2 separate regions of the Homo sapiens genome follow, and region 1 is linked to region 2. The links are contacts of gene promoters, found by promoter capture Hi-C in blood cells and fetal thymus (Javierre and others, 2016). All regions are on one chromosome and are shown on one strand. The core of a region is centred on a gene start or on the middle of the fragment in contact, and the rest is flanking DNA. Distances in the headings are between cores, read along the strand shown. Region 1 overlaps DLD (dihydrolipoamide dehydrogenase). Region 2 holds the start of PIK3CG (phosphatidylinositol-4,5-bisphosphate 3-kinase catalytic subunit gamma).

Evidence for each region. The method cuts DNA at HindIII sites, captures the fragments that hold promoters and counts their contacts. A CHiCAGO score of 5 or more calls a contact.
Region 1: a fragment that was not itself captured here is called in contact with the fragment with the promoter of PIK3CG in region 2 in 1 of 17 cell types (naive CD4 T cells); the score reaches 5.0 in naive CD4 T cells.

What each region holds. Positions count from the first base shown.
Region 1 is chr7:107,900,660-107,905,495 of GRCh38, reverse strand. It overlaps DLD (dihydrolipoamide dehydrogenase), which reads right to left. Exons shown (of 14, transcript NM_000108.5): 3 at 3,679-3,758; 4 at 3,103-3,171; 5 at 1,949-2,018; 6 at 438-538; 7 at 1-135. Among named protein-coding and RNA genes, the nearest start is that of DLD, 12 kb to the right of the region's middle. The HindIII fragment of the contact is 3,883 bases long and covers 962-4,836 here.
Region 2 is chr7:106,863,907-106,868,293 of GRCh38, reverse strand. It overlaps PIK3CG (phosphatidylinositol-4,5-bisphosphate 3-kinase catalytic subunit gamma), which reads right to left and starts at 3,012. Exons shown (of 11, transcript NM_001282426.2): 1 at 2,868-3,012; 2 at 1-744. The coding sequence starts at 732. RefSeq lists an enhancer at 2,841-2,940. The HindIII fragment of the contact is 4,956 bases long and covers 2,549-4,387 here.

The sequences.
Region 1 (4,836 bases), core at 1,654-4,153, 1.0 Mb before region 2:
AGGAAAAGGAGTAACTTCTGAACCCGTGGCTATAAGAATGTTCTTTGTATCAATAACCTGAGTGCCGCCATCAGCTTTCGTAGCAGTGACTTGATTTTTGCCAGTTATCTTTCCATATCCATTGACATGAACAACCTTTACAAAATAATCTTTATAAATTCACAAAGTTTAAAGTAATTTGTTTGATAAATCATTCAAAGGAAAAATTACTCTGTAAATAATTTATCTAAAACAAAATGCTTCCTTACTTAGTAATGCTACACCATGGTGCAGCAAAAAAATCTGTGATATATGTCAGGGAAATCTATTTCAGGTTAGCAAGCTATTTTAAATTAAATAAATATTCCCCTGTAACCAAGTTCAAATATCATCACTCTATAATGCAAAGTTTAATTTGTATTCAAAGTAAAGCAGAAATCTGAATATTAAACACTGACCTTATTCTGTTTGAATAAGTGGGCAATTCCACCTGTTAAAGCTTTTACTGCAGTACTCTTCTGCTCCATCATCTTGTCTAAATTCAAGCGAACTTCGGACACTGTAATTTGTTCAATTAATCTTTAGTTCTTAGCTAAATTCTTGAAGCAATATGCAGTGTTTTTCACTCACCAACTGGAAAATTTCAACCTAATGCTTATAAAAGGCAGTATTAAAGTTTCAAAATGTAATAACTTATAATTATAGTTGACAAAAGGCCAACATCATTGTATCACAGAAACAGAACCTATCAAACACTATAAAATGTCTACCTTGGGTAAAAAGGCAGTCCAAAATAAAACATTATATCCCACTGTGATAACATATCCTCTGAACACTTTACGATGGTTATAAGTCTGGAAGATATGTAAGTAGAAATGACAAAGTAAAACATCATCTGAAATTTTAAATAAAGGAAAATGCTAGATTTCATGAAACAAAACAAATAAAAAATACACGTTTAAAAATTTCAAATACAGAAGCTTAACATTAAAAAGTTTAATCACCTAGGTTTTAATCACTCATTCAACTCAGAAGAGAACTCTGAAGCAACAGTATTAGATAAAAATGCTCAACTCAATTAAACTTTAGAGGTAAGAAGGGTATCTTAGAAAGTACCTCATATAACCAACACATATATTAGAGATAAGGAAAAAGAGACTCTGAGAGATTTCTGATTTACCCAAGGTCACAGAGCTAGGATGTAAAAGCCTTGCCTACAATGCAGGTCTCCTGACTACCCCTAGCTCTTCTTTCTTTACGTCATTCCATTTTTCAACTAGTATGATATTCTATTTGCTTTAGTGCATATACATCATCTCTATACCCAATGGATTGCCTTAAGTAGCCCCTCAAACCTACCTCTGTAAAGAAACAAATGAAGGAAAAGTAACAACCCAAGGTTATGACTAGGTCCTGCCCAGAAGAGACTACCTTTCTGGAAGTATCTAACAACAACAATAATTGGAGACAAAAGATTAAAACAGCTCAAAAAGTATGTCAGGAGACAAGATACGTTATGAAATGTCCTCTTCCTTTTCCGCTATGCCTCACTCTTTCTCTCCTCTAATTTTTCTACTATCAACAGCTTAAGTGGGCCTTCCTTCCTTCCTCTATCTCCCCATAGTACTCAGGAATCCAGCCTTCTCAGTGATTTCCAGATTTTAGGAAATGAAAACTGACTCTTCAAAAACACATAAAGGCAAACCTCAGGAAAAAGTTGGCAAAGGAACAGAAGATATAATGGTAGAAATCTGGATTTGCAGGGTTAGGCTTGGTTATACTTGGCTGGGAGAAATCTGGATTTAGGCCTTCTTTTTTAAGTAAATCTCTCCACATTTTTTAGATTATTTATTTTACTCTTCCTTCACTAAACATCTATTATGCGTACGTTAGACACATTTAAGTCTTTAGACAGAAGAGCCAAGTCAAGCAGTCTGGTAATATCATTAAGCATGAAAAGTATACTTACTTTCAATTCCTCTAGATGCAAAATCTTTTCCATGGGCCATATGGTAATAATGAGAGTTGTTCAATAAAGCCTAAAGGAAATTAAAAAGATCAAATTATCAAATATTCATAAACAGACTTCAAATAATCAAAAAGCACTTATGAAATGATAGTCTTTCTTTTCATTTTTTGAGACGGAGTTTCGTTCTTATTGCCCAAGCTGGAGTGCAATGGCGCCATCTCAGCTCACCGCAACCTCCGCCTCCCGGGCTCAAGCAATTGTCCCTGGGATTACAGGCATGCATCACCACGCCTGGCTAATTTTGTATTTTTAGTAGAGATGGGGTTTCTCCATGTTGGTCAGGCTGGTCCCAAACTCCCAGCCTCAGGTGATCCACCCGCCTCGGCCTCCCAAAGTGCTGGGATTACAGACGTGAGCCACCGCGCCCGGCCGATATTCTCTTTCAAATGTTCTCATCACAAAAATGATAAGTACTGTGGTAATGAATATGTTAATTAACTTGACTAAATTATTCCACATTATAGTCATAAATCATAACACCACTTTGTATGCCATAAATATATACAATTGTAATTTGTCAATTTACAATAAAAATTTAAAAAGAAGTTAAAAAAAAGACATGGCATTCTCTACATGGAATAGTATATGGCACTACACCAATTCAGTTTCTCTTATTAATCAAAGACAAACAATAATGATGTGAAAAACATTCAACAAACAAGAATGAAAAAGACATTTTTACTTTCTTTAAAAGTAAAGGCATAAGTACACACTTCAGGGTGGCAGGTGAAAAAGGCAGTCATGTTTACATACAAAAAGGACCTAAAAGAACAATTTACTATCTATTATCTGTTACACTGGTGAAGGAAAGATAAAGAGAAAAAACTAGAACATCAGAGTCTGTTTGAATGGAAAGCTAGGCATTCTGAGACAAGGAAGTTATTTCAGGAATGTGTGGCAGACTAGTGACAGCACTCTTTAAGTTTTACAAAAGAGAAGTGTGTTTTTTATCATTCTTTTTTTTCTCTGTGTGAAATGTGCCACAACTTGGATTGTTTTTTAACAAGTGTATTTGTCTAATCTAGTCTCAATCCATCCTTCTAGTTGGTTGCTAGCCAAAAACAATCTCTGTGCTGTACAAAACACATGCTCACCTTAGAAGGAATACAACCAACATTCAAGCATGTTCCACCAAGTGTTTCATTTTTCTCAATGCAGACTGTCTACAACCAAAGAAAACATTATTTAACTGCACATAACCTCAATGTTTCAGATCACTAAAATTCCAAATATATGTCTTAATTCTTCTACAAAACAAGCTATTCGGGCTATGTTTTCACAGACTAAAATATATAGTCCTTTATAATTTATCATTTGAATAATAATAAACACTTTTGGGCTGACCCAAAAGTGAATTATTCTAAAAGATATTTTTGTGTGCTTAACATTACCAAATATATGCTTTTAGTTCTATCACTGTATCTTCCAAAGTGTGATTAGATGCCAAAATGAAAAGTACTGGGAAGAGAAGAAAACTAATAGATTTCACTTTCCATTCCAAGAGAATACTACAACCAAATGAACCTAATCTTTATTAGTCTCAGGCTTACAAGTAATTTATAGAGTTAAGGAAGTATTTACCATGTTTTTGCCTGCAAAGTACTTTATAAATATGATCAACCCTTCCCAAATTAAAATAAATCAATACTTAGTTTGAGTTCAAACCTTACCTTGAAGCCTAACTGGGCAGCTTTAATAGCAGCAACATATCCTCCAGGACCAGAACCTATAACTGTTACATCAGCATCAACTACGATAAAAGCAAATTGATATAAAATAGTAAATTGCTTAATATTTACCAAAAAGAGCTCTTTGGAAGAGCAAACAAATAACCCGATACTTAAACCTCTTACAGTACAAATCAGCATTTTCTACATAGTTTCTGCACTATTTTATTACTACTACTTGATGCTCTTTGATGCTACTGAAAAATGGCATAAATACTCAAATTTCATTTTCTATTATTTTCTATTCATTACAACATACAGAAACACAACTGAGTTCTGTAACACTCACATTGTATTCACTGACCTTCCTAAATTCTATTGATTTAATAACTGACGGAATTTAGTGATACTGGAAGACAAGTATGTATGAAGCAAAGAGCCTGAGCTTTGGAATCTGACATTCTGGGCTTCATATCTCAGCACGGCCAATGAGTAGTTGTATGAACTTGACCCAATGACTTAACCTTTCTGTAATATGGGGATGAAAACACTGCCTTCAATGATTGATGTTAGAATTAAATAAGATAATTTTATATAATGCTTTAGTATTTCCAATAAATTTAAGACCTATTACCTTTTTCAGGTCCTTAACTTCTGAAATATGAGGGAAAAAACAGCTTCTATGTAATATTTAACAAATATGTTTTGTACTTGCATATTGATAATTTTTACATACCTTAAGATAATAGGCTAACCAGAATATTCAATTAACTATTGTGGCCATTTTTCAAATAAAGATAAAAAATTGAAAATTAATTTTGATCAGTATCCTTAGGAGTTTAACAATTGTAATACAAATGTGCAAGTAAGTCCAATTACTCCCATTCTTCTCAATCCAACTTCAAATAAAGTAACAGTGACTGTTAAGAGTTAGGAAACAGTCTCCCTTTTCTTCCCCTTCCACTGTCCTGACAACCCCAACTAGTCTAGCATTTAGCAATTCATAACACATATTCACATATATTATCATGTTTGAGTCTCAGAATTTCCTATGAGGAAGATAAAGATGTCATAAATAAGACATTTCACAGAATAAACAAGAAGTTCAGAGAGGTCAATTAACTTGTCTAAGGTTAACCAGCAAGTGAGTTGCAGAGACAA
Region 2 (4,387 bases), core at 1,763-4,262:
GATGGCGCCGGGGGTGTCGTCGGGTGAGACCTTAATGGTCTGGCTGGTGGTGCTGCGGTGAATGACGATGAAGATGCAGTTGTTGGCAATCTTCTTCCACAGGTACTCCGGGAGGGGCTTGGACGTCACCCACGGGTGCATGGCGTAGAGCTTGGGGTCGCGGCTGGCCACCTCCGCCATGCGCGGGGTCACCAAGCCACGGCGCGTGAACTCCAGCTCATCGTCGTGCACGTTGCTGACGTCAGTGACGTCATAGCCAATCAGCGCCGTGAGCTGCCGCTGGAAGGCTTGGGACTCCTCGGAGGGCGGGTGCCGCTGCACCAGGTGGATCTGGCCCGGGCTCCGGTGCGTGGCCTTCCAGTAGCGCAGGCAGTCCAGAGTCTGCACCACCTGGTACTTGTCGTAGATCTCGTACCACTGCCCCTTCTTCTGATAGAGCAGGAGGAAGTGATGCGGTCCCAGCCGGTGGTAGAAGTCCGCCGCCACGCTGGTCTCCAGCGCTCGCAGCCACACCTGGGCCTTCATCTGCTCCACGTTGCCGTGGCCGGCCACGTGCAGCAGCGCCGTTTCGGGGCTCTTGCATTTGCGCTGGCTGGTGGGCAGCACGAACTCGATGGGGATGAGCTCCATGGAGGACAGGCTGGCCGCAGCACTGCGCGGCTTCATCCTCCGGCGCCTTCGGCAGTTGTCCTCTCTCAGCACCACGGGCTGTTTATAGTTCTCCAGCTCCATGCCCTATGCGACCTGGGAGCGGAGGGACACAGGGATTTGTCACAAGAAAGGCACTTTCCCCTTATATTTTCTGGTGAGATGAGGGAAGAGGAGGTATAGGCGGCGTACATGTGCACAGGGACCCAGAGGGACCAAGTATTTTAAACTGGAAGCACTACAGCCCTTCAGAGCGTGGGCTTTGGAGTCGGGCCGGTGAGTCCTGGCCCAGCCACTTACTTTCTGGGTGATTTGGGCTGCTTAATCTCTGAGCCTGTTTCTCATCTCTCAAACTGGTTAGTAATGAATGCCCCAGAGGGAGAGTTAAATAAAGTAATACTTGTTCAATATGGGTGACAGGTATATGGGGGCTTATTGGTCGTTCTACTTTTGTATACTTTGAAAATTTTAAAGAGGTAGGTAAAACACTCATCCAGCACAGCGCATGACACATTATAATGGCTCAGAATGGACATTGTTCTTAAACATACTGAAACATATAGATTACTAAAATAGTACAGTTAAGGTTCAAGTCCCAGTTTACAAGGTGCAACACGAGATGCCAAAAAATCTCACTTTGAAAACAGGCCTTTAACTTACTTCCTCTTTGTTAAGTCTCACACTTCTTGGAACCCAGACACCTCACCCAGCCTTGCTTCACGTTGCCTGTTTTCAAACTGCCTGGACCTAGGATCTACTCCCTAATAAATTTCCTGCCTCTTGGTTTCATTTTTTCTTTCTAATTAGGAAAGCAAGTCATTTCATTTGTAAAGCTAAAACATATCGGAATTAGTAAAGTTACAGTCAAAACCATTTGCAGATATGTAAAATTTTGAATCATGGAATTTGTCAGCATTCTGGCTGTCACTGCTATATTAGGGCAGTATCTTAGAAGAGTCACCCAAGGCTGTACTCTCCCAATAGGAACATTTAGGTAATTTTAACATTGTTTAATTAATTAATTAAAATTCATTTGATCTGTCTCTACTTAATAATGGAGGAGCTACAGGATGGAAGGCAGGATTTCTGGACTCCAGTGACCTTCTGTTAAGACCCCCAATCATTTAACTTCTTTTTTGCTCTAATATTTTCATTTTTGTAACACAAATTCACAAATTTATTCTCATTAACCTACTCACTCTTTCCACAAAATTCAGTAAGTACCTACCCTTCACAAAGCACTTATGTATAAATAGGACATACTGCAATAGGAAATCCTTCAAATAATAATTGAAATTTGAAAGGTATTAACACTGAAAGATTAGGTATTTTGCTTTCAATGTTTAGTATCACTACATTGTAATACATTATATTCTAAACGAATCAATTATTGAAACAAAAAATTAATGTTTCAGAAAATATCGTTTACTCTCTTAAATAACTAATGTTAGACTTAAAACTACATTATTTCCTTAAGAAATAGTGGAGCATTTGATGTATACCAAAAAGGAGAGCTTGATAAGAAGATAAGAAAGACAAATTTCATTTGATCCAAACTTATGTTCAAATCTTGGCTTAACTTTTAAAACCAATATTCCCTCTCTTAAAATATGAAGTTATACTTAGTAAGTGAAACCAACTGTCCCAAAGAACTGTCTCTTGTGGCTTAAAACATTCATTTTGGTCTTTTGCTACATTATAGAATAACTAACAAAGAAGAGAACTGTAAGATACATTGATATTGACACTAACTTGAAATAAAACATGTCCAAATTTAGGCAGCATATAAATACACAGCAATAACTTCTGCCTCAGTGATACCAAACGATCTTATAAGATGCAGAGGAAAACAGGCTGACTAATACTCACTGGTTTCCTTCATGGTTGAGGCTATGAAGCTTTCCCCTTTTATGAGAAGATGTTGGAAACACTGTAAGTACAGTAATCTTGAAGCATGCACTTGTAGGAATATGAAGCCTGGCTGCCGTGCCCTCCCTTTTCCTCCCAAAACAAAAACAAAAATGTGATGCACCTGCAAAACTATTGCCGGAACGTTGTAGATATCCACAATACAGGTTGGACTAGACAATGAAACACAGACATTCGGTGGTAGTATCATCTCAAGAACCGACAACAGTTTCAGATAATCTAGCCGAGAAGGAAGTGCCACTATTCCGAGTCAGACCCCACAAAGAGCAAAAAATAGAAGGAAGCAATACCTGATAAAGCAGCGGAGGCGATGATGCTGAAGGATCATTTGTTTAATTTTTGAAAACAAAACAAATTCAAACCTACCCAGTGTGCGTCTAAATTCTTCCGCTTTTCTGGGGCTCCCTTCATATCCAGATGCAGAGGAAGTGTTGCAGTTACCAGGAAGGAAGTTTTAACCAAGTTGATTATACGTGTGATTGCTCATTTTAAAAGTGTCAGAAATGCATTTCCTGTTTTAGCATAGAGAGGGTAGGAGTATGAGACTGAGCAATGTTTACCATGGTTTTTCTTTTCTTTTTTTTTTCTCTTTGAACTAATTTTTCAAAAATTGTGATACTGAGACAAAATGACATAAATCCAAACCAAAATTACCCATTATGAGACATAAACATATGAAATATCTTTGTAGCTAGTTCTAAGAGCCACAGTATTAGGTATCCTATTAGGAAGACTTTTACCAGTCAAATTAAACTCATTCCCCTCCTGGGAATTCAAAAGAATCCTTGTTCGCACATGCTAACTGAGGGGTGGGGGAAGAGAAACCTAGTCATCTTGAGGACTAAGTTATCAAGCTGAAAATTTTTAAAGGCATGGTCTGCAAGCTCACTTCCTTAGCTTGGTGAGAGCTTTCTCTATTTTTTCAGAGCATTTGGGGCCTAAAATATCACTGGCTCAAACTGAAAGCACTGCAGCATGTGCATGTGTGTATATAAATGTGACATACTGCAGTAAGTAACCCTTCAAATAATGGTTGAAATGCTAAAAGTATTAAAATTGAAAGATGAATAAAAAGGTATTTTGATTTTAATACTAAGTACCACTACATTGTAACACATTATATTCCAAACAAGGATCAACTATTGAAACAAAAATTAATGCTTCAGAAAATATCCTGTGTTGAGGATGGAGCCTTACTGTCAGCAATGACTGATTAATTAACTGTAGACAAAACAGAAGGAGGTTGCCTGTTATCATGGGGAAATTGGGGAGCTGAACACTGTTACAGCATCAGGCAGATTCCATCCTGGGAGGTGGCCCCTGATTCCTATGGGAGTAGAGAATGCATAGAAAAGCCATCCTGAATCATTTTTAGAGTAGCGTTGTATCTTCCAGGTGACCTCAGTTCTTTCTAGAACCTCCAAGCATCCTGAACCAGCGCCCCCTCCCTCCATCTCAGAATTCCCTATGCTAGAGTTCATCCTCCAATCGGGGTGTTGAGGGACTCCAGCTGAGCTTCAAGGGCAGCAGATAGAATGGAGTTGACCTCACAAGTCTCTTGGAGGTATGTAATTAAGAGTTCCTCTGAATTACTCTGATATTGAGATAAATGATTGATTTGACTTATTTCCTTTTACATATGCCTCTTGGGTTTTAACTTTTAAATAGCACTCTAATAGTTGACATCAGCAGGCAAATAATTTAATTCAAAGGCTGCCTCCCAAATATTTAGAGGGGTCTTATCAGCTTCTCAAAGTATATTCCTATATAGGAATACTCCCTTAGGAGGCTGGCAGCTTTAGAAGCACCA